Regions from separate parts of the Homo sapiens genome. Here regions 2, 3 and 4 are each linked to region 1. The links are contacts of gene promoters, found by promoter capture Hi-C in human tissues and cell types (Jung and others, 2019). All regions are on one chromosome and are shown on one strand. The core of a region is centred on a gene start or on the middle of the fragment in contact, and the rest is flanking DNA. Distances in the headings are between cores, read along the strand shown. Region 1 holds the start of PFDN4 (prefoldin subunit 4). Region 2 has its middle 230 kb from the start of LINC01441. Region 3 overlaps TSHZ2 (teashirt zinc finger homeobox 2). Region 4 overlaps TSHZ2 (teashirt zinc finger homeobox 2).

What was found. Contacts are between HindIII fragments. The study calls those that stand out against the background at their distance.
Region 2: a contact is called between a fragment that was not itself captured here and the fragment with the promoter of PFDN4 in region 1, in 1 of the 25 tissues and cell types used here (heart left ventricle).
Region 3: a contact is called between a fragment that was not itself captured here and the fragment with the promoter of PFDN4 in region 1, in 1 of the 25 tissues and cell types used here (lymphoblastoid cells).
Region 4: a fragment that was not itself captured here is called in contact with the fragment with the promoter of PFDN4 in region 1 in 1 of the 25 tissues and cell types used here (lymphoblastoid cells).

Annotation. Positions count from the first base shown.
Region 1 is chr20:54,203,355-54,210,715 of GRCh38, reverse strand. PFDN4 (prefoldin subunit 4) reads right to left here and starts at 2,629. Exons shown (of 4, transcript NM_002623.4): 1 at 2,592-2,629. The coding sequence starts at 2,615. It overlaps LOC124904937 (a long non-coding RNA gene), which reads left to right and starts at 2,675. Exons shown (of 2, transcript XR_007067669.1): 1 at 2,675-2,759; 2 at 3,660-3,770. RefSeq lists enhancers at 1,598-2,414, 2,555-2,874, 2,415-3,232, 5,080-5,309 and a silencer at 2,295-2,564. The HindIII fragment of the contact is 11,424 bases long and covers 1-7,361 here.
Region 2 is chr20:55,652,375-55,659,735 of GRCh38, reverse strand. No RefSeq gene overlaps it. Among named protein-coding and RNA genes, the nearest start is that of LINC01441, 230 kb to the right of the region's middle. The HindIII fragment of the contact is 3,943 bases long and covers 1,869-5,811 here.
Region 3 is chr20:53,085,699-53,093,059 of GRCh38, reverse strand. The region is part of intron 1 of TSHZ2 (teashirt zinc finger homeobox 2); the gene reads right to left. Among named protein-coding and RNA genes, the nearest start is that of TSHZ2, 120 kb to the right of the region's middle. RefSeq lists a silencer at 4,118-4,344. The HindIII fragment of the contact is 4,369 bases long and covers 1,494-5,862 here.
Region 4 is chr20:53,202,037-53,209,397 of GRCh38, reverse strand. All of the region lies in intron 1 of TSHZ2 (teashirt zinc finger homeobox 2), which reads right to left. Among named protein-coding and RNA genes, the nearest start is that of TSHZ2, 230 kb to the right of the region's middle. The HindIII fragment of the contact is 5,589 bases long and covers 1,868-7,361 here.

The DNA of each region.
Region 1 (7,361 bases), core at 1,380-3,879:
TTGGGGGCCTGGGGAGTGAAGGAGGCTTCTTTAGATAAAGGTCAAAGGTAGCCTCTCTGAGGAAAGGACATTTGTATATAGGATAATGAACAGAAATCAAAGTGCAGATCTCCTTATGGTCAAGAACTGGATCTTAGAAGGCAGAACTCTAGAGAGGAGAGGACTGAATCATCTCATCTAAACACTCTCCCCAGCAAAGTCATGACCAGTTGAGAGATACGATGTGTTACAAACGTAAAGTACTCCAGATTGTACGATTTGCTTTTAATTAAACTCAAAGGGCTATCTCTCTCTGTTTCACTCTCACTCACTGGCATACACATATGTTTTCTCCTAGTGAGGGCAAAGGGGAAAAGTGTACATGCAAGCTAATCTATCGGGAATTGTTCCTAACACTGGAAACATCTACAGGAGGACACTGCATCTATCATGTGACTCTTAAAGCCTCCAAAGTTAAAGAAGCTCCTTTATATTTTGGCCACCACCTACCCCTCTATAAGTTCTTTTCCCATCATGGCTCAAACTCTCTTCCCCTGATTATCTGCCATCGGGCCTTCCTTGTATTAAATGCACTCAGAGTCTCTGCAGATACTCCTCTCTAGAATGCTTCGCTCCCTATCCAACTCTCCCTTCCTTTCCTTACATAATCTCACAGATCTCAACTTAAATGGCACTTTCCCAGGAAAGTCTTCTCTGATCTCAAAACAGACCTCATTTTGGCCCTCATTTCATAAGCACTTTTCCTTCACAGTTCTCATCAGAGAAACTAGTTTTCTGTCTGACTATCTGAGTAATGCCTGCTCTGCCCTGGAACATACGTTCTTTGGGGCTATGAGATTAAGGGGAGAAGAGCTTTCTCACTGGTCACCACAGTTGTCTCCACTTAAAACTGAGACTACGCCATATTACGTGCCCCCGAAAATTTACTGAATCAATGAAAGGAAAAAAAAAGTTGGTAATTAGAAATTTTGCAATCAAAATCCAAGGTTCAAATCATTCTTCTGCCATTTCCTCTTCTACCATTTACTTCACCTCTCTGCACTTCAGTTTCCATACCTATAAAACGGAGTGAACCACAACTAGTATCTTCCAAGGAATTAAAGGCCATACCTAACACCAGAGGGCCCAATTTAACAAACTAGAGGTGAAGTGAATCTCACAAAGTTTCATACTTTTTTGAATCACCATGGCCCTAGACCCTACTCTGGGACACAGTAAGAATTTTTGGATGGCAGAATAGTAGGGTGAGCAACACATCCTGAGTTGGCTGGGGCTTTCCCATTTTTGGCAGTCCCTCAATTTCATATAAAAGGGGGCAATGGGTCACCCTACACCAGGCACAGATGGCATAGACTATGTGGTACTGGATAGGGGCAAAGCAAAGAAGTTCTAATGTGGTCTTAAAAGTGGAATGAACGCAAATCCCTCCAGCCAAGAGATTCTCATCAAAGACCCCCTATAGCAGTTTAAAACACAGACTCCGGAGTCAGAATGCCTGTGTTTAAATGCTAGCTTTGCCTCCGCGCCTGTTTTCTCATTGTTAAATAAGGATAAAAACAGTATCTCCCTCAAAGAACATAAAATAAACAATACACGCAAAACAACTTACAGCTGTACCTAGCACACTGTAAAGCTCCCCAAATTATCAGCCGTTATCTCCTTCCCCCTCTCCAATTTTCTTTTTCTTCTATCTGACTATCTTTACACATCTGGGAAGGCTCACGGGATTAAAAACCCCACATGGAAGTTTAGCCGGCTTAGTGGTTACACAGGCGTGCTTTGAGAAAAACAAAAACAAACCTGAGTTTGAACTCCAGCTCTGCTTCTTACTAGCTGAGTCACTTTAGGGCCTCTAACTGCTCTGTGTCTAAGTTTCTCTACCTGCAAAGTGGAGAGGAACCCATTGCACTTGCTGAGTTGCGGGGAGGATAACAGATAAACGGCCGGCTGCTGGGCCCGGCACATCTTCCATTCTCAATAAATACTGGTTTTAGCCTGAAGGACTCAGGGGCATCAAGCGTGGAAATGGGCAGCTCCAGGTTGGACACAGGGTCTCTGGGGCCTGCTAATCTGGGGATGCAGGAACCTGCTGTCCCCGTTATGAGCTGCGTAACCTCGGGCAGGTGACTCCCCATCTCTGGGCCTCAGTTTCCTCACCCGTAACCACGCTCCCAGCAGCAGCTACCCATAACCAGTGAGGCTAATGCGATCATGCCGGTGCAACGCCCGAGTCAAGGCCAACCACACTCAACGGGACCTTCGGCTTCCCACACCTCAGGGGCGAGGCCGGGGCTGCAGGTTCCTCAGACTCCCCGGGGGCACCCTCGGCATCGCGGGAGGCGGACCTGCGTCCTTCGAGGCTCCCGGCCCCAGCCCCGGCGCCCCGCCTCGGCTGGCCAGGTGCCTAGGAAAACGCTCAGGGCGCCAGGCGCGAGCAGGCCTTGCCGCGGGACCGCTCTCAGGGCCTCGGCCTCGGCCTCGGGTCCCACGCCGGGCTTCGGAGCTGCGCACCCCCAGCATCCCGCGCCCGGGCCCCAGCGGCCGAGATCCGGCGCCGCCCGAGCATCCAGAGCCCCGAGCTCCCCACTCACCGCCTTCTTCATGGTGGCCGCCATCTTGGGACTGGACTACCGCAGGCGGCGGGGAGGGCCGCAATGGCGCGCTTCGCCCCCGAGCGTTCTCTCGCTCCCGGTCGGCCTAGAACTCCCCGCAAAAATACAACACTGTCTCCACATTCCGTCCTCTTGGACTTTTGGCCAGTGAGTCCAAACGGCTGGGACGTAGGGAGGAAATGTGACCTGGAAGGACTTGGTACATGCCAATTAAAGGGACAGGCAACCCCCGTGGACCGACATAAACACGGGGGTGTGGCGAACGGCTCCGGCCGCGGGCAGCAGGGGGCGCGCCCAAGGCTCAGCGCGGCGGGGCCCAGCTGGGGCAGGATCAAAGGGCTCGGGGAATTTTTCTCCATCCGTCCCACAGACTTGCATTGAGAAAGCTAACCTACCTGTAAAACAGCTAGGAACGAATGGCCTTGGCAAATAGGGTGTGAGATTTATGTGCCATGATAATTCAGGTGGTGTAAAGGAGGTACTCCTATCTTTTAATGTAATTTTTTTTTAATTTAAATTCGGGGGGTATGTGTGCCGGTTTATTACATGGATATACTGCATGGTGCTAAGGTTTGGGTTTCTAATGATCCCGTTGCCCAAGTAGTGAACATAGTACCCCACAGGTAATTTTTCAACCCCTTTCCCCTGCCTCCTTCCCCGTTTTTGGAATCCGTAGCATTTATTGTTCCCACCTTTATGTCCACGAGTACCCAGTGTTTAGCTGTCACTCATAAGTGGGAACATGAGTGGTTGGTTTTCTGTTTCTGTGTTAATTCACTTAGGATAATGATGTCCAGCTGCATCCATGTTGCTGCAAAGGACATGATTTTGTTCTTTTTTATGGCTGCATAGTATTCCATGGTGTATATGGACCACATTTTCTTTATCCTATCCACCACTGATGGGCATCTGGGTTGATTCCATGCCTTTGCTGTTGTGACTAGGCAATCCTATTAATTAATTTACAGCAATATTACTGAACAATTACTGTATATTCTGACACTTGTGTCTCCCAATTAGTAATTTTTTTTTTTTTTTTTGCCTTAGGACCTCTTTATACTCCTGGAAATTACTGAGGACTCCAAAGAACTTTTGTTTATGTGGGTTATTTATCGATATTTGCTGTATTAGAAATTAAAGCAGAATTTTTAAAATGTATTTATTAATTCATTTAAAATAATATAAAACTCCATTCCATGGTAATAAAAATCACACTTTAAAAATAACTATATTTTCTAAGACAAAAATAAATTGAGAAGATTGTCATCATTTTACATTTTCACTGATCTCTTTAATATCAGGCTTAATGGAAGGTTACATTCTCATGTCTACTTCTGCATTCAGTCTCTCCAAATACACTGTTTAGTTGCCTAGTTGTAGGTATGAAAAACCCCAGCCTCATACAAATCATGTAGTTGGGAAAGGGAGGCCCTCATGGATCCCTGAAAAGGTCTCAGGGACCCCCGAGGTTCATGGGCCACAGCTTGAGAACTGCCCCTGACAAGCCTCCTCCTTTCTCAAAGTCCCAATTTCCTCTTTGGTTAAATGAGGGGAATGAGACCTTATAGCACCCTGTGCCCTCCCCACCGAACCACCTAGCCCGCCACGGGCATCGCCTGTTCTCCTGCCTATTCTGGGCTCTCCAGGCCCTTAGTATTGGGACTTTCCAGTGTGTAGCTCATATGTGCTCAAAAAAGTATTTGTTGAATAAAGATGTTTTTCCAGGGTTAAATCTTAGCACCGGGTCTGGCACATAGGAGATGCTCCATCAGTGATATCTGTTTATTCCAGAGCTCAATGTAAAAGCACTGCAAGAAACAAATGGTGGAGAGGGAGACAGAAATAAAGGGCAAAATTGTCACAAATGGTACCAAGTGCATGAAGGAGATAAATGAGGTGCTGAGGCAGAGCACAGAGGGGAGGGGTGGGGGCCAGCTCTGGAGCTGGCCTCTAAGCTAAGAGAAAATGGGAGGCCTCAGCATGGGGAGAGGAGACGAAAGTGGACCCCAGGGGTGGAGGGCTGAGAGGGAAAGAGCCTGGTGAGACATGGTAGAAAGGACAGAGCAGCATGGAGCGAGGCTGGGGTGCAAGGCAGGGGCCAGATCTGGGCATGTTTTAGAACTTGGTGAGGCCAAACTGGGGGAGGGAGAGAGAGAAAGAGAGAAAGAATTCTGACTTTTTCAAAGCTTTATTGAGAAATGGCTGAGTTGAAAGCTGAGGAACAGCGGAGCAGGAATTTTGAGGAAATGTAATTGTATGGTGGGGACCGAAAGTAGCATAGGGGCTTTGAGAGAGAGAAGCACTTCAATCCTCAGGTGCATAGATCTTAGGACCAGAAGGGACCTAAACTCTCACCTACGTTAACCTTTGCCTTTTGCTGAAGTATAATAATAATGAGAGTTCATATGGTTTGGCTGTGTTCCCACCCAAATCTCCTCTTGAATGGTAGCTCCCATAATTTCCATGTGTTGTGGGAGGGACCTGGTGGGAGATAATTGAATCATGGGGGCGGTTTCCTCTATTCTGTTCTCATGGTAGTGAATAAGTCTCATGAGATCCGATGGTTTTATAAGGGGTTTCCCCTTTCTCTCGTCTCATTCTCTCCTGTCGGCCACCACGTAAGATGCGCCTTTTGCCTTCCACCATGATGGTGAGGCCTCCCCAGCCACGTGGAACTGTGAGTCCATCAAATCTCTTTTTCTTTATAAATTACCCAGTCTTGGGTATGTCTTTATCAGCAATGTGAAAACGGACTAATGCAATAGTAACAGTAACATACAAAACTGACAGGGTACATACTATGTGGCCTGCACCTTGCTAAATGTTTTAATCCTCACCATACCACACAATATTGTTATCGATCATTTTACAGGAGAGGAAATAGAGTTTCAGGAGGACAAAGCTACTTGGCCAAGGCTCCAGCAGCCAGGAAGTACCAGAGCCTGGGTTCGAACTCTTGGTGAACCTGGCTCCAGAGACCACTCTCCTAAGCACCAGGCTTTACCCATCACCACAAGTCATGTATAAAGTCAGATGTGTCCCCGAGTGGGCAGCTCATAGTGGACATTGCAGCTCCTGTCACCTGACTTGCATGAGTAAAGTGTTTAAGACTCAATAAAGGGCTTACTGGAGCCAGACTGCCTGCGTTCAAATCATACCTGCACCACTTTCTAATTTTGATGTTAGACAAGTTACTTTCATGGCAAAAATAATAATGTGTCTCTAATAGGCTTGTTGCAAAGAGTAGAAGAGATAATACGTGCAAATAAAATGCATTGTAAGCTCTCAGGAAATGTTAGCTATGATTACTTTCTCAGTTCAGCCCAGTTGCGTCTGAAATTCCACTGCCCAAGTTATGATCTTTCAAATCTCCTCTTCAAGAACTCCCCTGGCTTGGTATTACTGCTAACTACCCCCATGGCCATGATTAGTGCTGCCTTTTGAGACTGTAGCATCCATTTCAGATGTGTAGAAATTGGAAAGCATCCTGGGGGAGAAGAATGACAATGGTTAGAAGCCATCCCAGCCGGAATCTTTAAAGCAGACCCCAAGGCAAAGGCCTAGATACTGCTTCTTCATTAAGGAGTACAATCCCAGGGCAGCCAGAGCGAGGAAAAAGCGGAATGAAGCAGGTCAGGGAAGGCAGCAGAGCCCATACCAGGAGGCCTCACCAAGCCGACCTTTGCTTGGTATCAAGCACGACTGGTTGCTCCCTCTCTGGGGACTGTCCTGTAAGAGGCTGTGTTAACCAGAACACAGGAGAGTTCAGCTGGGGAGAACTCTTATTTGCCAGTTCCTGCCTCCCATTCAAAGGCTGGCCCCACGGGGACCTCACTCCCAGACACTTCCAGGTTGCTCATTGAGGCTCCCATAATTTTTCTCACCTCAGCCTTCCACAGGGAAGCCCCCAGGTGGAGGAACAAGGTGTGAGGCTGTAAGCACGAGCCAACTGGACGGAGAGGCAGCCCTGCAAGTCTGCACACCATGGCCGGTGTGGAGCTGGTCACTGTGGGAGCTGCTGGGGTGGAGCAGGTGGCCAATGGCAGGTGAGAACAAAGACAGGTTAAACCAAGAGGCTTTAACATGACACATCCTTAGGTGCTGTCTAACACTGAGGCCCATAAAATCAGCCAAGAAGTTCAGGTTATAACATACTGAAGAGTCAGTGAATTAAATTCTTTTAGGACTTTAAAATTACATTGGACAAACCACAGAATGAGAGAAAATATTTGCAAACTAAATATTTAGTTTAATATTTAATTAAGAAATAAGGCAAGAAAAAAGGGATTAACAGCCAGAGTATATGAGGAGCACAAACAACTCAATAGGAAAAAAACTAATAGTCCAGTTTAAAAATGGGCAAAAGATCTGAATAGACATTCTTCTAAAGCAGGCATACAAATGGCAAATGGAGATATGAAAAGGTGCTCGACATCACTGAACATCAGAGAAATGCAAATCCAAACTCCAATGAGATATCAGCTCATCCCAGCTAAAAATTGCTTTTTCCAAAAGACAGACAATAACAAATGCCAGAGAGGATGTGGAGAAAAGGGAACCCTCATACGCTGTTGGTGGGAATGTAAATTAGTACAACCACTGCAAAGAACAGTAGAGAGCTTCCTCAAAAAACTAAAAATAGAGCTACCACATAATCCAGCAATTGCACTGCTAGGTATATAACCCCCAATAAGGAAATCAGTATATCGAAGAGATGTCTGCATTCCCATGTTTATTGCAGCGCTATTC
Region 2 (7,361 bases), core at 2,591-5,090, 1.4 Mb before region 1:
AAGATGTGCCATAATTAATCAGAATTATTGGGAAAGTAGTCTTTCCCAAGGAAATATCTACTTAGTTCAAGACTCACCAGCAAAGATTTTTTTTGTTTCAAATTATATTGTGAAAAGATTCTTCCAATTCATTCATTTACTCAAAAAAATTCCTGTTAAGCATACGTTATGTTCCAGGCACTGGTTCGGGCACTTAGGATACACTGGGAAGTAAAAGAGGCAACAGTCCCTGTCCTGGGGAAGCTGCCACTTTCCAGAGAAAGACAATAAACATAAGAAATCAGTAAATTATATATATTTTTAGAAGGTGATATGTACTAGGTCAAAAAAACCATTAGGCATGGTTAATGGGAATCAGCCATGCTGAGGGTGTATAAATGATGATTGCCACATGGAATATCGTCACCAGGGTAAGCCTCATTGAGATGGTGCCATTTGAGTGAAGTTCTTTAGGAGGTGAAGAGGCAAGCTCTGTGGGTGGATATCTAGGGGAAGAAGGTTGTAGCAAAGGGAAAGGCAAGGCCAAGACCATCAAGTAGATATGTGCAAGGATTCAGTGTGAATAGGCATGTTTTCTTGCATATAATAGACAACATGAAGCTGCGGTTTAATGACCAAGAGTTCTAGAAGGCTTCAAGACAATTTTAAAAAGAATGTCCAGGCTACATATTTGAAAGATCAAAGAGGTGGGTTTGAATTTACACTGACTCTGACAGATATCCTGTTGGCCCATCTTATAAATAAATAACCTAATACTATTTTGTCATATATTATATATATATACAGTCTAAGGATAAAATTATGTGGTAAATTTATTCTAGATAGTCAGATTCTGGTTCTGTTTTAAACTGCTGAGTATGATTAGTTGGATTCTTGTAAACTGAGATTTTACTGCATTATAATGTTTAGAATGTGCTTTTCAAGACCTATTTTCCTAAAAATGATTCTATAGGATTATTGGTGAAACTAAAAATAAATTGCAATCACATTTTGCCTTGACCATTCTGTAGAATCTAAGCCAGTTAATCCAACAAAATTTAGTTTTTAGCTAACACTTATGTTTTAATCATTTAAAGTATAATTATTATGAGTACCTACTATATACTTAGCACATACTGAAAATTTTAAGGAATCCTTAAAATAATTTGACACAACTTTTGCCCTCAAGGTGACTAGACTGGCATTTGTGAAATAAAAATGGAGCAAAATGACATCTTTAAAAGAGTAGAGCGTGAACAAATGCTGTCAACATTTATAGGAGGGAGATGATTGAAAAATATATCTTGGCAGAGAAGCTTCTTGGAAGAGAGACAAGTTGAACTGGATATGAAATTAATTGGGAGGTTGCATTATATTCATTACACTCATCTACTTTCGTATAAATTAGTGGGCCAGAGACTGTGGTAGCCAGCCTTCAAGATGGTCCCCAGCAATCTCTGCTTCCTGGTAGTCACACCCTTCTGTAGTACCTTTCCACATTGTACCAGGGTTGGTGTGTGTGACCAATAGAATACAATGGAAATGATGGTGTGTCACTTGTGAGATGAGGTTATAAAGGCCACTATAGCTTTTCTCTCCTCCACCTCTCAATGTCTCTCTCTGATTGCTGGTTCAAGCTAACAGTCACATGTGTGAACCACCTTGAAAGCTGAACCTCCAGCCTCAGTCAAGCCTTCAGATGATTCCAGCTCTGGTCATCAAATGGACTGCGATCTCAGGCAGGATCTCATGCCAGAGCTACCCAGCTAGGCTTCTCCTGAATAACTGATCCCCTCAAACTGCATGATTTAAATGGCTTTTTGTTTTGTTTTGTACTAAGTTTGGGATAGTTTTTTTACATAGCCATAGATAACTAATATTGGAGCAAGTAGCGCTTTGACTGTAACAGTTGTATCTGGCTATAAAACAAAACTGTTCAGAAACATTGGATTCTCCTCCTCCTATACCTCTTAAGGCACAAGAAGAATTTAAGTAGTAACAAGAGAGACACTCTTTTGGCTGCTAAGATGTGTAGTGAAGCAAACACAATTGCAGTCCACCTAAGCCAGGATGATAGTTAACATCTGTGGGAAACTCTTTTAAAACAATGCAGATAATTGAGCAAAACTGAAGCCCATTCAAGGCTCTTGAAGTTCCCATATACATTTCCAGATCAACACCACCAATAAAGCAGTAACACCTCAATAATAACTACCATTTATTTAAAAGGTAGTATGTGCTAGGCACTTCATGCAATACTATACAAATAATACACTATCTTATTTCATCTTCCAATACTTCTATGAAGTAAGTGCTAGTGCTGTCACTATATATGTGAATGAGGCAAATAAGATTTAGTGCAGTGTCTCTCAAACTGAAATGAGATTAAGAATCATCTAGGGGGCTTATTTACAATGCAGAACAAAATGTAGCAGATCTGAGATTTTGGGATTTTTAACAAGCTTCTGAATCCTGCCGATGCTGCTGGTCGAAGAACCAGATTTTTGAGAAGTGAGTGGTTCGAGGTTATACAATTTGCCCGGAGTTCAAAATAGTAACCATTTATTGAGGGTCAGCCTTGTTCCAGTACCTTATATATATTTCTCTTCTAAATCTCTGTGAAAATGGAGATGTTATTGTCTCCACTTTGTGAATTATAAAACTGAGGGTCACAGAGAATAAAAATATTTTAAAATAAATTTAAAATAATTTTCCCAAAGGTAACAGTCATTTAATAAGTAAGTAAACTTGAATCCAAGTCTTTATAACTGCAAATCTCACATTTTTCTACCATGTCACATATAGGAAAAACAATTGAGTACCAAGAAAGATGTTTGTTGAGAAAAATAGACATAATGTAAAAATAATAGTAATAACGATAAAGTCAGGATGATACTTAGGCTCAAACATACTTCTACACAGCAATGATGCCTCAAAGACTTACTTTGATCAAATATTTTGGCGATTGCCTTTCCCTGTTCTTATTTCTAGGTATTATGGGATTTAGAGTGGGATGGGGGATGGGCATCAAGAATTTTCCTCAAAATTACAAACAAAAACAAAAAAAACCCCAAACTGATCATTTGCATGGGGAATGCCAGCTGGGGAGAAGGGAACATATGCTTATATTCAGGAAAAGTTTCACAGGATGTAAAAAGAAACCATCTGCTTTTTCTTTTTGTTCTTGTTTAAGAACAGCTTGTGTTTGCAACTCACAACTTAAAACATGGTAATAACCTACAGGACTTTGTGAAGCATGAACTGTACCAGTTTTTTTTTTTTTTTTTCTCATTTTTCCTGCTTATTTTTTTCACTTGATGTTTGCAGAAAGCAGACTGCAAAGAAGATATTTGCATGTTGCAACTTGGATAATAAAATTCTTCTGATCGCAGCCTGAGTCTGCTTCTTTTGGGTTTTCTGGGCACTCCAGGATCCTGCAATGAAATCCAGCCAATGTGAATCAAACGTAATTCTCAGCTTAGCTATAAGAAACACCTCAGGCTAAGACTGTGCCTCGGTGCACCTCCTGCTCAACCTGTGCAGAAAAGCACTTCTGTGACCCTGCTTTATCTGCACAGCACCTGGTAGGGACTTGGAAATTGTTTTTGAAGGAAGAAAAAAGCAGTTTCATATGTTTACTCTTCTCATTAGCATTCATCTCTGTGGCTTTGATGTGTGCCTTCTTTCACTGCTGAAGTTTTCTTAATGTTTCAGACATCACCACTTCTTAAGTGCCAACTAGTACATACATCTACCATTCCTAAGAGATGGAAGGCAACACTTCCCAGTGGAAAGTGCCTTAATGACCTTATTGGGTAAGCAATTAAACACTGCAAACAATGAGTAAGATGAACTAGACTGGGTGAGAATCTTGGCTCCTCCACTTACCAGTTCTATGGCCTCAGGGAAGTTACTAAACGCTTCTCGATCTCAGTATTCTCATCTGCACTGAGGGAATAATAATAATACCCACCTGGGATCTTTATGAAGGTTCAGCAAGTTTATGAGAAAGTGCTCAGTCAAGGTAGTATCTTTGAGCACAGCAAGCTCTTGTGGGATAAACCAAGACATGTGGGAGGAAATTTCCTAAATTTAATAACAACATGTTTTCCTGCAAAGTAAAACACCCTGCATATACATACACAGTGATGTTATGTACATAAATGTATAAATATATGCATATCTTCTCTGGATATATGTACACATATGTATATATGTATATATGTACACATGTATATATGTATATATGTGTATATATGTATATGTGTGTGTATATATATATATTAGACATACAATTTATTAAACGCTTCTCAAATGGGAATTGTAAAGTCTGCCCCTGAGTTTCTCAGCATTTGCCCTACTGACGTTTAGGTCTAGATTAATCTTTATCCAGGGGGCGTCCTGTGCATTGGAGGATGTTTTGCAACAACTCTGGCCTCTTACCCATTCAATGCCAACTGTATATTCTTTCCATTTTGATAACCAAAAGTGTCTCCAGATAGTGTCAAATGTCCCTTGGAAGTTAAATTAGCCTTGGTTACTGCCAATCTAATTGATACTGCCCATCTTTAAAATCTCCAGGATTTTTTTTTTTTTGAGATGGAGTTTTGCCCTTGTCACCCGGGTTGGCATGCAGTGGCGCGATCTCAGCTCGCTGCAACCTCCGCCTTCCAGGTTCAAGTGATTCTCCTGCCTCAGCCTCCTCAGTAGCTGGGATTACATGTGCCCACCACTATGTCCAGATACTTCTTGTGTATTTAGTAGACACAGGGTTTCACCATGTTGGCCAGGTTGGTTTCGAACTCCTGACCTCAGGTGATCCACCTGCTTCAGCCTCCCGAAGTGCTGGGATTATAGGCATGAGCCACACCTGGCCAGGATCTGTTATTCTGAGTTTTGATGAGAAGAACCCAAAGAATACACAGGTATGTTCAGATATGACACTGGAAAAAATGTCTGCTTTTCTGATTTCTACATAAGCTTCAAGGAACAAATTCAAACTTCACTCTTCATATATATGACCAGTAATGCAGATGTGCTAAGTTTATTAGAAAGGAATCATTGCAAACTCATTAAGCAGTCAATTTTCTGTCTCTTTGTATGAACCTCCTTTGAATTAAGATATTATCTTCTTAATAGGTGGTGGACAGAATAGCTCAAAAGTGTACACCAGACTAGTGGATTGTCTTTAGAATTGGAAAATTACAGAAAAAAACAAGGATTAACATTATTTTTGGAGCGATTTTAAAATATTTAATGTTTTAATATTGCATGTTGGAGGTGGCAGCAAAGTTTTTATCAGTTTGTAGATATCAGTGCAATATTCATTAGCTTTTCTAAAGGTTATTTTAAAATTAATTATCTTACGTATTTCTTGTCTTCTGCTAGCTTTTCCATTTGTTTGCTCTTGCTTCTCTAGTTCTTTTAATTGTGATGTTAGGGTGTCGATTTTAGATCTTTTCTGCTTTCTCTTGTGGGCAGTTAGTGCTATAAACTTCCCTTTAGACACTGCTTTAAATGTGTCTCCGAGATTCTGGTATGTGGTGTCTTTGTTCTCATTGGTTTCAAAGAACTTATTTATTTCTGCCTTCATTTCGTTGTTTACCCAGTAGTCATTCAGGAGCAGGTTGTTCAGTTTCCATGTAGTTACGCGGTTTTGAGGGAGTTTCTTAATCCTGAGTTCTAATTTGATTGCACTGTTGTCATAGTGGCACGTGAAAAAAAAAAAATATCAAGCTCCCATTAAGTTTTTTTTTTTTAGTCACTTCTATTTATGTCTTTCTAAGTAGTGTAACTAGTGGACTTTTCTGTCAATGCAAAGTTTTATTTTATTTTGTTAATATGCAAATGAGTCATGTTATACAATGTGAATAATAAACACAGTTGTGGTCAAAATATTATGGTATTATCATACTTTGACTTAATCTCTCAGTTTCAGAAACAGTCATGATAGACGAAATGTCAAGCAAGAAATACCAACAGAGACATAGCTAGGCTTGGAAACAGAATGAACATCTCATGCTGAGCTCCTGGTCTGGATGCAGGCAGCCCTGGCTGGGAGGACAGTGCCTGCAGGTAATCAGGTTAAAAATATGAAGGTAGGAAAACAGAGGCATGCTTATGGCTTAGAGGACAGAGTTGGGATGGGACTGCTCTGTAAACCCACTAGAAGAAACTCTGCAGATTGTTGCCAGGCTTATGATTTCAGAAAGCTGAAGACCTAGGGAAATATGAGACTGCAGTCTTAGCCTTGAAACCAAGTCTCAAATGAAATCACCCGATTCAGTGGCTGGATATGGGGTGTCCTCTTTGTCTCTACAAAATTGGAATCTCAAATTGCCATTAAAAGGCCAATGCCAGATAGGAGACTCAGAGGGCTGGTGGAGGCATAAACAAAAGTAGTGTGTGTATGTGTGTGTACATGTGTGTGATCACCAAGGGAAAGTGAAAAATAAGTAATTCATTCCACTCAAAGTTTTCGTATGTATGTGCAGTAAGTGCAGATGTGCTATGTTAGAATGGTTTGTGAATAAAGCACAGGAAATTAATGCCAAGGAGGCTGCAAAATAAGCAATTAGAACCATTAGACCAACCCATCTGGAAAAACTTAACCTAAGACAACAACTATTCTTTGAATGTGGACACGTGTCAGGCACTGTTCAGGATGCCTTGCGCAGATGAAGCTTTTTGTCTTAGGTATGTTTAAGAAACTCAAAGACTTATCTGCGGAAACTGTGTCCATGAGGAAGAATAAGAGAGTATAAAATAAGATGCAATGAAACAGGAAATGCGGAAATGTTGACATTAGAAGCATAACCCTTCAAATGAGGCATGCGGTGAATGGCCAAATTCTAGAATGGACATTGTCAAAAAGAGAATTAGTATTGCCGATATTACTGAGAATTCACCATCATATATGACAAAGAGGTTTAAGACTATGAAAAACCAGTTAGGTGTTATGAAGACTGAGAGATTCCGACACACGTATGTTGAAGGGTAATATTAATAAAAAAGATACAAATCGTAATTCTCATACAGATGAAAAATGAACACATTAAAGATTTTATTTATTTATTTATTTATTTATTTATTTATTTGAAATGGAGTCTCACTCTGTTGCCCAGGCTGGAGTGCAGTGGTACAATCTCGGCTCACTGCAACCTCTGCTTCCTGGGTTCAAGCCTCTCTTTCGCATGCTACCATGACCACATTGCGATCAAATTACAACTTCCCGGGTTCAAGATTCTCCTGTCTCGGCCTGCTGAGTAGCTGGGAATACAGGCATGCGTCATGATGCCCGACTAATTTTTTGTTGTATTTTTAGTAGAGATGGGGTTTCACCATGTTGGCCAGGCTGGTCTTGAACTCCTGACCTCATGTGA
Region 3 (7,361 bases), core at 2,429-4,928, 1.1 Mb after region 1:
TTTCTAAGAGTCAAATGCATCTCTTCTGTGCTCCCTAGCACAGGGCAAACTACAGTCCCAGGGCCATATCCGGCTCACCGCTTGTTTTGTAAATAAGATTTATTGGGAAACAATCCTGGCCATTTGTTTACCTAGTCTATAGCTGCTTTCCAGCTGAGTAGGTACTGCAGAGACTATATGACCTGCAAAGCTGAACATATATATCCACTGCCCTTTTACAGAAAAAGTTTGCCAATCCGTGGTCTATGCTACTCTTTCTAGCCAGCAGAATGTCCAAAACAAACGTGATGCAACAAAGATACTTTACCATGAGTGCCACTGTCCCAGAATGTTATTTTTACAACTGCTTCTTAGATCCTTTCCCACTCCGTTCTCATGTAGTATTTTATCTTAAGACTTCAAAATAATTTTTCAAAAGATGCAGCAATATACAAATTACAACTGGGAGAGAAATGTTTCCAAGAAGGGTTTCAGAAGAAACTAAAGACATAGCATGTGACAATGAGCAGCATACCAGGGAATATTGTTTCCTTTTCCCATGGCTAACATTTATCCCACAAGTAATGCCGTGTTTGTTAGGTGGTCTTGAGGGAAAAATATACTAGCAACCCACACAGCTTCTTTGTCAAACAGAACACAGTCAACGGGTAATATGAGAAGACTCAAGTTGACTGATAAAACATCATCTGGTGGCTAGTGTTAAGACGGAGAATGAATCCTGGCATTGAATTCTGGCTGAAGCTTCAGTCGACACTTGACTCAGTTTACACATTAAAAAAGGGATGTGACAACACAGAATGGTAACTAGGTTGGTTTCCAATTCTACTAAGGTCTCTCGTATAGGGCTATAAAGTATAGGATTGGAACTGATGTCAATTCTAATTGATGGGAGCGGTCACACAAGGAAACGATATTGTGAGTGTGATGCTTGCTGTCACATGCTGTGTCAGTAGTTTCTTCCAAAACCCTCCTCTGGGAAACAAACAAAAGCATCGGTTTTGTTGTTATATTTTTGAGACAGGGCCTTGCTTTGTCACCCAGGTTGTAATACAGTGGTGCAATCATGGCTCACTGCAACCTTGAACTCCTGGGCTCCAGCAATCCACCCTTGTCAGCCTCTCTAGTAGCTGGTACAACAGGCGGGTACCACCATGTCTAGCTAATTTATTTTTATTTTTAGTAGAGACAGGCTCTTGTTATGTTGCCCAGGCTAGTCTTGAACTTCTGGGTTCTAGTGATCCTCCAATCTCTCTGCCTCCCAAAGTACTGGGATTACAGGCGTGAGCCACTGAGGCTGACCAGAAGCACGGGTTTTTAGCACACTCTCTGAATTTCTGAAGTACACTATAATGGAGTGCTTTCTCTACATTAAGTATAAATGCTGCATTGGCATCAACAGTGCCTCATTTCCTTTTGGACAGGAAGTCGTGATACTTTTGCATCTTCAAAAATCTAAGGTAAGGGAATAAATGGATCTACCAAGAAATAGTATGGCTTTGCATATAAAATACAATCATATTGCAAATTTTAATGAGCAAAATCAGAATATAAATGAAGGATTTAAGTAGTAGGTAAATCTTACAAATTATTTAAGCTATATTTTCAGCAAAGCAACTTGAATCTGTAGCTTTGCTGGAAGCTCAGCAGGCAACCCACATCCAGTGAAAACCGGGAGCGGCATACAAACCTAGAGAAGTGGCTGATGACTACACAATCCCTTTCAAGGGACTGTGTTTTATAATGCTCAGCATAGATGTACTTCTTTCACCAATGTTGCCGTTATAGAACTATCTCCTGCACTACTATCCAGGCTTTACATAAACTCACTTCTTAAGTAAATGAATTTGAACAGTGTATTTTCTATCACAACTGACATTGGCAATCTAGCGATAATAGCTACAAAATTACCAAATTGATGTGGTCCTCATTTTACACAAGTATTACACCTTAAAATAAATACATTACAATTAAATTGTTAGGAAGTTTATCTGTGTACCACTTAAAATGCCACTGTGTGCTATCAGAGTTTCACCCATCCTCCAAAACACACTCCTGAGGGAATATAAACATTCATACATGTAAACATTTTATCTGATATGGTAAGTATTTTATTATTTGAATTAAATATTAAATGGTATCAAGTCTGTATGCGTGTTTTGTTATATGGAAACATGACATATTGGAAACAAAACAGCAAACGAAAAGGGGAGTAAAATTGAAGAAAGAATCCACACAGGCTTGAAGCTTAGGAGTGTGCACACACAGCATTAGTGACTTATTACCTCAAACCAGAGGCTCGATGAAGCCTTTGTTTATTCTGCAAATCCACAGCAAAATAATTGCTGTGAGTTATCTTAAGATGCTGAGGAAGCCACCTCAAAGCACACCTGGGCTTGTGGGCTCGGAGACCCTTGCAAGCAAGCTGCTGTCAGCTGCTCCATTTTGGCAGACGGGGAAATGGTGCACCTCAGTCTTACAGAGGTGCACTCCATTCCAAACCCAGCCAAAGTTCATGTCTGAATTCTGCTGCTTAAAATCTTTCAATTGGAAGGAACTCCTCACTCTGTCTCATGGCTTTCAAATTCCAGCAAACCTATTCCCCCATGGCTTCATGCCCTGACTCTCTCCACCCTATTCTCAACCCCAGTCAGAATGGTCTCCTTCGTATTTGTGACAGTTAATATTGAGTGTCGATTTGATTGAATTGAAGGACGCCAAGTATTGTTTCTGGGGGTGTCTGTGAGGGTGTTGACAAAGGAGATTAACATTGGAGTCAGTGGTGTGGGAGAGGCAGACCCACCCTCAGTCTGGGTGGGCACCATCTAGTCAGCTGCCAGCACAGCTACAATAAAGCAGGCAGGAGAAGATGGAAAGAGCAGATTTGCTGAGTCCTCTGGCCTTCATCTTTCTCCTGTGCTGGATGCTTCCTGCTCTCAAACATCAGACTCCAAGTTCTTCAGCTTTTGGACTCTTAGACTTACAACACTTGTTTGCCAGGGGCTCTTGGGCCTTCGGCCACAAACTGAAGACTGCACTGTCAGCTTCCCTACTTTTGAGGTTTAGGGATTTGGACTGATTTCTTTGCTCCTCAGCTTGCAGATGGCCTATTGTGGGACTTCACCTTGCAATTGTGAGTCAATTCTCCTAATAAACTCCTCTTGATATATACATCTATCCTATTAGTTCTGTCCCTCTGGAGAACCCTGATTAACACAGGATTCTTGGGCGCTCCCCAGGCCTTCCTCAGTAGGGTCTGGGCACTTGCTATTTCCTTTGACTGAAAGGTTCTTTTCTTGTTCTTCATGTAGACAGTTTATTCTCACCCTTTGAGACTTATCTAAAATGTCACCCTATCAGGGAGTTCTCTTATAGCCACGTATCTTATGATCTAGCTTTTTAATCTTCATAGCTATTATTACTGTGTGAAAAATCATATTTATGTGATTAAATGGTTAATGTCAGTCCCTCCAAAGGGGCTGTGATTTTTCTCAAGGGCAAATCTTTTCTCAGTCACTATGTTATCCCAAATGCCAAGTACAGTGCCTGGCATGTAATAGATACTTCATAAAGTTTTTGTTGAATAAATAAATGGACTTACGAAGACCAGCTTTCCAAATCTTGGAAAAATCCCTACTTATCTCTTTCTATTACGGTGCAAAATGTACATTCCCTTTACAACTTCTTTGCCAGCCTGGAAGTTGGAAAAACTCTGTTTAATAAAAAAAAAAAAAAAAAAAAAGAAAATCCCATTCCTGTACCTGTCACTGCTGGGTTAAACAAGTTCACTTAAGATTTTTTTCTCTGTGTGGGCTTTCCTCAGGCCCTATAGATGTGCCACGTATGTTTTATGAGCTAACATTTATTTTCGACACTTTGGCCTATTGGACATGATCTCGTAAGCCTGAACTCTCAGCTGACATGCTGTTGAACATAATGGGGAGATTTAAAAAGGTATCACCAAGGAGTAGAGAGGATTGCGGAGCGCCAGGGGCGAGGAGGAGGTGGTTGAGATGAGCCACGGAAAGCTTTCACACTGTTCTCCCTGGCAGTCAAGGAGCCGTTGCTATGATGTGCAGTCTCAGCACGTGCATCCTGAGCCAGCCGAAGAATGCAGAACAACCTAATTGCTATCCTTGGAACTCAGTGCTCCCAATAAACTTGAAAGCTGAATAGCAACATTTCACAAACAGAGCTGCAGCCTCCTAGCTAGGTGAGCGGCAGTGGAGTCTCTGCATTGCTGTGTGGTACTCTGGATGGAATCCACAGGTCTCGGAAATGCCAAAGCACTCTCTTTCTCAGACAGAGTGAGCCTTCAATTAATTACAAAAACTAGACATTGAAAATATGCCATATGTCAATCCATAGTGGAATTCATATGGGGGAAAGGGAAGTTTTAAAGGTTTCTGAAAGCCATCAAATCTCCATTTAGATAGAATTCTTCAAAAAAATATGAATTTAGTTATTCATTTGCACGGGGTAAATTTTTCAATTTAGCGGAACAAAGGCAACTACAACTTGGCATTTAAAAACTTGGGAGAGTTGACAACAGCAGGACGGAGGGCCAACGCTGAGATCCTCAATTCCATTCAAATCACATAATCAGTTAATGCCAATTTGTTGCTAGTGCTTTAAAGTCAGAAACAAACAGGGCCCTTAAAGGATTTCCCTCCATAGTACCCAACAAAATTACTCATTGCAATTTCCTGTATGATAATTTTTTAAAATGTCTGTCTAACTCCAGTAGACTATAAATTCCATGAGAGCAGAATTGTGTACATTCTGTTCACTTTTGAGTTCCCAGAGTTGAATCCAGTGCTTCATATATAGTAAGTTCCCAACAAAAACTTACTAAATGAATCAAATTAAGCCCCAGTGCTGGACCTCAAGAAGCTCTCTGTTCAGTAGGAAACAGGTAAGAAAACAAAAGGATTTCAGCAATAGGTGATGAGTCCCAGAGCAGAACTATGCCCAGGATACTTATGGGACAACAGAGCAGGAAGCTGAATTCATCTTGAAGACAGACATGGGGTAATAGAATGCTTCCAAGAGGGGGCAAAGCTTAAGTCAATTTTAAAAAATAATGCCAGGTAGAGAGAACTGCTTGGGAAAAGGTTGGAGGAGAGAGTTATTTAGTTTCTCTCCCTGGAGCATTAGTCCAAAAATCACCAAGGTGGCCAATTACCAATATGGCAGATACAAAGTCTCTGGTCAAGCCAAATGCCAAAAGAATTTACCTGTCCTTGGATTTAATCCAACTAGAAGAAGCAGAGGTACTACACAGCCAACACGTACCATCATTTAAGTCCCTGCCAATGGCCGAATCAATAGACATACTACTTTTCTCTAAATAGCCTGAAGACACCACTAAAATACACAAGCAAATCAAAAAAGAAAGTCTTTTCCAAGAGTTTTACCAAGAACTGTAAGACCTTGCCAGTCTGTTTCTGATCCTTCTTTTAACAGACACAAATCAGAAGCATGATTATGAGTAACGCTGTGCACCCAGTGAAGAGGAAGAGACACCCACGAGGCAATTAAAACTTTGGTCCATGGTCTTTCAAAAGTGAAGACTGGGGGCTTGCATCAAGAAGTCTGAGTTCTCATGAGCCGACTGTCAGAGCTAAAACATCAGAACTTTGGGCCAAGGATCGAAAATGTGTAATGCATAAATGTCTGTAGAAACTGCCAAGGGATTTGTGTGAGCTGACCAACTGTGCAAACAATTATCTGTGTTTAGAAAGCTCTACAGTAACGGAAACGTGAAGATTTGGCCTTTGGAGTTGAAGAATCTCCTGGAAATATCCCTTGGAGTAACTACTTGTTTACTTGGAAAAGCATCTGATCCTGGGCAAAAAAATTTCCCTTTTTTGGTTGACCTCAATTCTTCTCTCCATTCATGACAGGCTGTTGCTCAAGAAAGGGCAAAAGGTCTAGCCATGTGAGAATCTGGTATTATGAATTCTCCTCCTTCAGATCATCACATGGCTTGTTTTCTCACTTCCTATGAGTCTACTCATAGGTTCCTTTCTCCGCAGAGCCATGCTTGGCCATCCTATCTAGCATGAAACCCTCCACCCCATCCCCTGACTCTTCCTCTACCATCTTCTTGGCTTTGTTTTCTCCTTAGCATTTCACGTCTAACATGCCAGCTAGCTAATATATTCATTTTTTATTTTCCTTCTCCCTTACCTGAATTCTTAGGCAAGAACATTTGATTGGTTCATTGCTATATCCCCAGCTCCTGGAAGGAGAACTGGCATTAAAAGATAAGTCTTAAATGCAGACACTCCTTATGGTGCATGCCATCTCAGCAACCACAGAACTGTGCAAAGGGAAGACACGGTTTCAGGACACGAGTTCCAGTTAACAGAGGCAAATTGAGGTGGCCTATAAATAATTGTTAGGATGAACAGAGCTGTCCATACTTCTATTTTATGGTTAAGGCCACCAGGGAGAGGTTGTTATTTGCCCTATATACATCATTCCTGACAGGAGGTTTCTCCAACAATCACCTTCCAAAGAACCAATGTGGTAGACACACTTGGGGATGATCTATTCAAGCCATACCTTCCCTTCCACAAGAACTACTTGCTCCTCAAGCCCTAACAGACTCCACCTCAATCAGAGACAAATGGACTGAAAGTAGGCTACCCACAGAGAGCCAAGCTTTTGGTAGAGATTAGCCCAAAAATCTGAATGGAGATATGGCGATCTTGAGAGAAGGAAAGTCTGAAGGAAGGTGCAAAACACATATACCTTTTGGTTCATAAAGATACCTGGCTCTACCCTCTCCGACATCCCACTCAACCCCACCTTTGCATCAATTCCCTGGTCTATGCCAGCGCCCTCCTTAGACATTTTTGTTGTTACTGTTTAGTTGTTATTGCTTAGTTTCCTTTGAAGAGAGTTATTCTTCCTTACAACTAAAGAAACCTTGATTGAGATGCACAGTGGGCAGCTGGCACCCACCCCACCACTACTGAGCTACCAAGAGACCAGAAGACACGGCCTCCATGCAAAGAGATTGGTGCAGATGGAGAAGTCAGGATGAGGAACAGCTGGAGACCATGCCACATGCACAATAACCCTAGGCCTTGAGAGGCACAGGTGAGGTTGAGCGCAGCTGGAGAGGAGAACTTTGAGAAGCCCTCATGAAGGTCTGCCTGGCTTGTGGTTTAATGCTTACGCCTGAACGCCACCACTGAGCCCTGCGTGGGATTACTTCAGGGGGAATTTGAGGAAGTTGAACTCAGTAATGGGCATGACTTTGCAGCTAGGCACCTTTCTGGCCCTGAATCCTGGGGGCATAGTGTTTAAGATCATGAGGTCTAGACCACCTGGGTTTAAATCTGAACTTTGTA
Region 4 (7,361 bases), core at 3,413-5,912, 1.0 Mb after region 1:
ATGTGCATTTTGGCAGCGCACAGTGGCTCATGCCTGTAATCCCAGCACTTTGGGAGGCTGAGGCAGGTGGATTACCTGAGGTCAGGAGTTCGAGACAGCCTGACCAACATGGTGAAACCCCATCTCTACTAAAAATACAAAAATTAGCCAGGCATGGTTGCGCATGCCTGTAATCCCAGCTACTCAGGAGGCTGAGTCAGGAGAATCACTTGAACCTTGGAGACGGAGATTGCAGTGATGGCACCACTGCATTCTAGCCTGGGTGACAGAGTGAGACTCCATCTCCGAAAAAAAAAATGTGCATATTTGCATTTTAAATACAGCCGTCATGGTTGTTTTGGAAATGTCTTTTTCACATGCAAAGAAGCTGATTTTATGCCAAGTCAAAATGGGTAGGTGGAACAAGTGAAAGGTGTGTCCTGGTAGAGGCAAAGCTCTTAGGAAAGAGTAAGCAATGCATACTTGGAAACCTAGAGGCTCTCTGGGATCAGCTGCAGAGCAGTAAGGGGGCCCAGAGACGCCCAGAGCTGTCTGCTGAGCAGCACCACCTACTGTGTTTCTGGCATAAGGAAATAAAACAAACACACCTTTGTGGTAGCACTGCACAGTGGTTACAGGGCGTGGGGGTGAGGTTCTAGAATTTACCACTTTCTAGCTGTATGACCTTCAAAGAGTTAGTTAACTGCTCTGAGCTCATTTTCTCGACTGTAAAATGAGGAGAACAGCAATTCCAACCTACAGGATTGTTGGCGACCTTAAATGAGAAAGTCCAAGTGCACTGCTTTGACACACAGACCGCCTCACACCTGGTAAGCGATCCGTACGTGTTGGGAGTCATTATCAAGTCAAGCAGGATGTGGGTGGGAAATGTGCTCTCGGAGGGTTTGATGCAAGTTACAATACTTGGGGAGTGCTTGATTTCCAGCTTCCTCATTCACAAATCAGGGTTACACCTCTTACTACAAAGAACTGATCCAGGATTAAATGAGAAACAAGAGCTGATGCCTGGCACAGGGCAGGCAACAGTAGCTGTGAGCTCCCTGTCTTCTCCATTTCTGTATCTACCAAAGGGAGGAACAGTCCAGGGTGAGGAACAGCCAGCCTGTGTGATCCCTGCTCACTAGCGCCACCAGTGGGTTTGTGAAGAGAAAAGACATTAGGGTGGTCTTCATCTTGATTTAAGGTTGCATTTATTTATTTATTACTTATGCTAGAGGCTTACATTCTCCAAAGAAATTGGTCTTAGGGCGAATGCGATTTACCATCAGCTAAAGGGGAAATGGTGGTAGAACTGTCATGCCAACAAGGTCAAAGATATTTGCATCTATGTTGTTTTATTGATTTTTTGACTTGATTCTCCAGTGAAGAGTAATAATAGCAATTAGTAGAACTACAGGAGGCTGGACATGGTGGCTCCTGCCTGTCATCCCAGCACTTTGGGAGGCAGAGGCAGGGGGATTGCTTGAAACCAGGAGTTTGAGACCAGCCTGGACAACATAGGAAGACCTCATTTATCAAAAAAAAAAAAAAAAAAAAAAAGTAAAACAATGTATCTGGGCACGATGGTGCATGCCTGTAGCCCTAACTATTATACTAGGGAAGTTAGGATAGGAAGATTGCTTGAGCCCAGGAGCCCAGGGCTGCAGTAAGCTATGACAGTGCCACTGCACTCCAGCCTGGGCAGGAGGGCAAGACCCCATCTCTAAAATAAATAAAAAAATAAAATAAAAAAGAAGAGCTGCAGCCCCAAATCTGTGATCTGGAAAGGTTTTCAGAGTCTAAGTTATAAAAGTGGGATTTAGGGTGCTCATCTCTAAAGATGTGGCTGTGGACAAAACTGGGGTCAGATAGGCCTCTGCAGCCATGTCCCTACAAGTGAGAGCCAGGGTAGGGGCAAGATGGGCAGCTGAGGGCATCTCCTCTCTACTGACCTCCTGCTTCTGGGGCCTTATTGCTGCTTCTTGCCACCAAACTTCAGGGCTTCAGAACACACCTGATTGGAGAGGGAACCTGTCACTCCTGCCTGATTTTTAACTACAGCAAAATAAGATGTTAAGTGCCCCCCACCCCTGAAAAAAACAACAACTCCCCTCTGTGATTTCTCTGATCTCATTATTGGTGCTCGTGGATTTCTCAGCCCTCAGCCCTCCAATTTCCCTCTCTTCCTTCTCACTGCCTTTACTAGGGCAGCAGCCAGTGGTTGTGGCATGCTTGAATTTCAAACAGGGCAGGCTGAAACAGGAACAACTGTATGTTTATTAGGGCATCATTATCCCTCTGAACTGCATCATTTATATCCCTGGGAAGAGACCACGCCAGGTCAGGAGCAACAGTTTGAGTCGATAATTTGTCAGGTTGAGCAGGTGGTAAGGGGTGGCATAAGAAATCACCTGAAAGGCACCGCAAACTGAAATGGATGGAGGTGGAAGAGTAATAAGAAAGTGATCAGTGAATCCACAAACAAGCACAGATAAATCAAACAGCACCAGGTGGATGGGAGCAAAATAGGAGAGATTCAAATTAGCAAGACTTGAACCTTATCAAGGGAAGGTTAGGAATTCACCCTCAGTCACCGTTACCCACCAGGGCTGGAGAAATGCCCACAAGAAAATGAATCTTTCCAGGGCAGGGAGCTGGAGTGGAAGAGATTTCCTAGAGAGTATCAATTTGGATTATAAAAATCCCAAGGTCTCGTGCTCTGACAGTGTGAAAGGTAGAAAAATGGACCAGACTTCTTGCAACTGCCACTACCCGTGGAGTGCTTGATACTCTTCAAATGTTTTTACATTCACAGAGGGTATACAGTGTTCAAAAAAGCAAGGGGATGAAAGACCCAGATGCAAAGCCTTGAAGAGGTAAGTGTTTCGGCCAAATACCCATGACCTTGGTGGCTCATAGATGAAATCTTTTCCCTTCTCTATTTGTTTTAACCCTTTGACCAAGTTTAGTCCTGAGTGTTAGAGTCAGAAAAGTAAAAGCAAGGGCTGAGGAACAAAAATCATTATCCTCATCATCGTGTTTATTATTTAGTAATAATGGCTACTGTACTCGGGGGCCTGTTTTGTGCCAGGGACTGTGCTGGCACATTTAGACCCTAACCTCTTTTAATCCTCACAGCAATCATATGTGGTGACTGCTATGTGTGTCTTTATTTATTATTATTTTTTATTTAATTTTTTTGAGACGGCGTCTGGCTCTGCCGTCAGGCTGGAGTGCAGCGGTGCAATGTTGGCTCACTGCAACCTCTGACTCCCAGGTTCAAACGATTCTCCTGCCTCAGCCTCCTGAGTAGCTGGGATTACAGGCTCGTGCCACCACACCTGGCTAATTTTTGTATTTTTAGTAGAGACGGGGTTTCACCACTTTGGTAAGGCTGGTCTCAAACTCCTGACCTCGTGATCCACCCGCCTTGGCCTCTCAAAGTGCTAGGATTACAGGTGTGAGCCACCGTGCCCGGCCCATATGTCTTTATTTTTCAGATAAGGGAACTAAGCCTTAAAGAATGTAAATGGCTTCACCAGGCTCACAGCTCATAAGTTATAGCATCACGATCAGTGCTCAGGATTATCTGAACCTAAAGCTCACACTGCACTGATCACCATGCCTTCTACAAGTGTTACTGAATATTTTTTAGAAGCAGATGAAGGCATTGAGAGGGAGCAGGAGGAGTATTCATTCCCAGGGACCCTCCAATTCCCAAACACACCCATGAGTCTATTCCATAAAAATTGTGGACAAGTATCAGGTTCAGGTAAATATGCTCGGATCTCATGTCTAGGAAAAACCTGTAGGTAAAGGCCTAACCCTGCAAAATGGACAGTGCGGCTGCATATTCACAAAAGAAGGAAGATGTAGATCTTTTTATACGAGTTTTAAAAAGACCCAGGATAGTTTTCTTAACATTTGGAACTTCCTTTGTGCATATCAAATGTGTTTCAAGTCACAAATAGTTGGTTTCAGCTCAATGCAGAAAGAATATGTACATTTTGCACAGAGTAAAGTACACCTGTTTGGAAATATTTTCTGTCTTCTGAATTTAAATGAAGCATTGCCCACAAGTTCAAAGTTGGAGAGATACCATAATTTCTGGGCTGAAATGCATGCTATTTTAAGCTTAGGCGCATGTTGGAAGCCAGCCACCAACTCTCCTCAGATTTGTCCAAATTCTCTGTGTTTTTCTTGCTTAGCACAGTGGTTAATTGCTCGGGCTTTATTATCTGAAAACCTGTAGACAAATCCAGAATTGAATCGCTCACGTGATAACTGTGTGACTCTTAGCAAGTTTCTTAGGTTTTTTTTTTTTTTTTGAGATGGAGTCTCCCTCTGTTGCCCAGACTGGAGTGCAGTGGCGAGATCTCTGCTCACTGCAACCTCTGCCTCCCGGGTTCAAGTGATTCTCCTGCCTCAGCCTCCTGAGTAGCTGGGACTACAGGTGCACACATGGCGCCGGCTAATTTTTTTTTTCTTTTTTTGTATTTTTAGTAGAGACAGGGTTTCAGCATGTTGGTCAGGCTAGTCTTGAACTCCTGACCTCATGATCCGCCCGCCTCGGCCTCCCAAAGTGCTGGGATTACAGGCGTGAGCCACCGCACCCGGCCACAAGTTACTTAGCTTTCTAATACTCAATGTTCACATCTATAAAATGGGGACCATAGTAAGATTATAGCTTCAAAGAGTTATTCTGAGTATGAAATAAAAGAAAGCACAAAAAACTTCATACAGTGATGCATGGTAGGAACCCGGTAAATGGTGTCTGTGATTATTATTATGTCTCTGTTTTTGTTGCAAGTGATCAGATACTGAAGGCTTCAAGCAGCGCTGCCCAATAGAAGTAGAATGTCAGCTATGCATGGAATTTCATATGCTTCAGTAGTCACATTAAAGAATGAGAAAGAAATAAGTGAAATTGATTTATATAACTATATCTTATTTAACCTAGTATGTCCAAAATATTATATCATATTATGATATAATAGTATCATATCATCATGTTATATGATGATATAGTATCATATCATCATGTTATATGATGATATAGTATCATATCATCATGTTATATGATGATATAGTATCATATCATCATGTTATATGATGATATAGTATCATATCATCATGTTATATGATGATATAGTATCATATCATCATATGATGATATAGTATCATATCATCATATGATGATATAGTATCATATCATCATATGATGATATAGTATCATATCATCATATGATGATATAGTATCATATCATCATATGATGATATAGTATATCATATCATCATATGATGATATAGTATATCATATCATCATATGATGATATAAATAGTATCATATAATATGATATAATAGTATATTATAAAATTATGATATAATAGTATCATATTATAAAAATGAAGGAGATATTGTGCACTACGGTTTTTGGACTAAGCCTTTCAAGTTCAGTGTGTTTTATACTTACAGTATATTTTAATTTGGACCAGTCACATTTGAAGGGCTTAGTAGCCCCATGTGGTATGTGGGACATACCGCTTGAACATTGCAGGTCTAGAGAGCTTGGGATCAAGTTCCCAAGGCAGAGTTTATAACCCAGTTTCAGTTTTTAGGTGGGTTTGGTTTGGGACATGCAGTTTTAAAACAAACGAATTACCAAGACCTAAAAAATCAGGAGATTTCGCATAAAAATTTATTTTCCTGGTTTCTCTTGGTAAAGCCTATGTCTGGCGATGAGACCACACTCCACCTGGCACCCTTGGCTGGAGATGAGTCTGCCCTCCTAGGGGAGGCAGTGTGGATGCTGGAGAATCTGCCTGCCATCCCACCCACTTCTTAGCCTCTCATGTCTCATTTATCACCATCTTTCTCATTTCCCACACCAGCCTGGCCCCTGTAGACCTATGAGTTTGAGACCCCCATGCCAAATCAATGAACCCTCAAAACAGAACTTAAAATTTGGGTGGAGGTGGGCACATCACTTGGGGTCAGGAGTTTGAGATCAGCCTGGCCAATATGGTGAAACCCCATCTCTACTAAAAATACAAAAATTAGCCAGGTATGGTGGTGGGTGCCTATAATCCCTGCTACTCAGGAAGCTGAGGCAGGAGAATTGTTTGAACCTAGGAGGCAGACGTTGCAGTGAGCCGAGATCGTGCCACTGCACTCCAGCCTGGGCAACAGAGTGAGACTCCGTCTCAAAAAAAAAAAAAAAAAAAAATTTGAGTCTGCTCAGACCCAGTTCTCTGCCTTGCACCTGTGAACTTCATTTGTCCTCTCAGCTTAAAGGTGAGTTGTGCCCATAGATTCATCTGAGGGAGCAGCTAAAGTTATATAAGGAGAGCTACAGCTCTGAATCTGACAATGATTCATATCGAGAAGGATGGAAAAGACTAAACAGCTCATATTGTGTCCCTTGATCTGCCTACGTATGATTCATCGCTAATGGCTTTGTACATAGCCATGGTAGCCAAGAGAGAAAGGCAGAGTGAATAGAGGGAGTGGCTGATCCCTCTCCTGAAACAGAAAAGCACCCCTGCCTCTCCCTCCCCAAGGCTGGAAGTATTACAAGTTATAGCATACATCAAAACCCAAAGCCTAAAGCCATCAACAAAACAGTTAAGTCTTGCTAGCTTCCAATGCTAAACCTGACTTCCCTTCGTTGGATCAAGGCACCCCAGGCAGCCTAGAATGAAGGCAATACAGTAAAGAATTCAAGAGCAAAGATTTAGAATTTAGACATTTCTGAAATGTATCCTCTGCCTATGCTACGGTGATTTGCATAAGTCTCAATCTTATGTTCTTCATCTGTAGAATGGGTTTAATAATAGCTTCTATTTCTTAAAGTTGCTGGGAAGATGGAGATAATATATATTAACATAAAGCACCGAGCTCAGTGGTCAACAAGCAGTAAGTGTTCGCTAAATTCTAGCAATGATTAAGGGGGCATATAAAATTATTACTAGTAAGTATCAACACAGCTACACTGCAGAGAATCATGTACCAAGTTGCAAAGTCTTTATATTAAGGTTAATTCTTTCTGTGCGACGATTCCAAACCACTTAGCCAACACGATGTCTCACATTTCACTTAGAAGAGAAAGTGATACACAGGATATTAGGTTCTTTTTCCACAATGGCCAAGCAAAGGTGTAGTGAGACTATAATTATAAAACCAAAGCCAGCAGGTACTCATCGACCCTCTACAATGCTCCAATCACCGAGGAAGGTCATGGGTAAAAGGAGTAACAGCTACTGCCTTTGTCCTCCAGCAGCAAAAGAAATGCTTGGAGAGAACATTAAATAGAAGCTGACAACAAAGGTGTGTTGCCATTTGTTTCCATACTGTCCATGTGAGCGACACATATGCAAAGGTA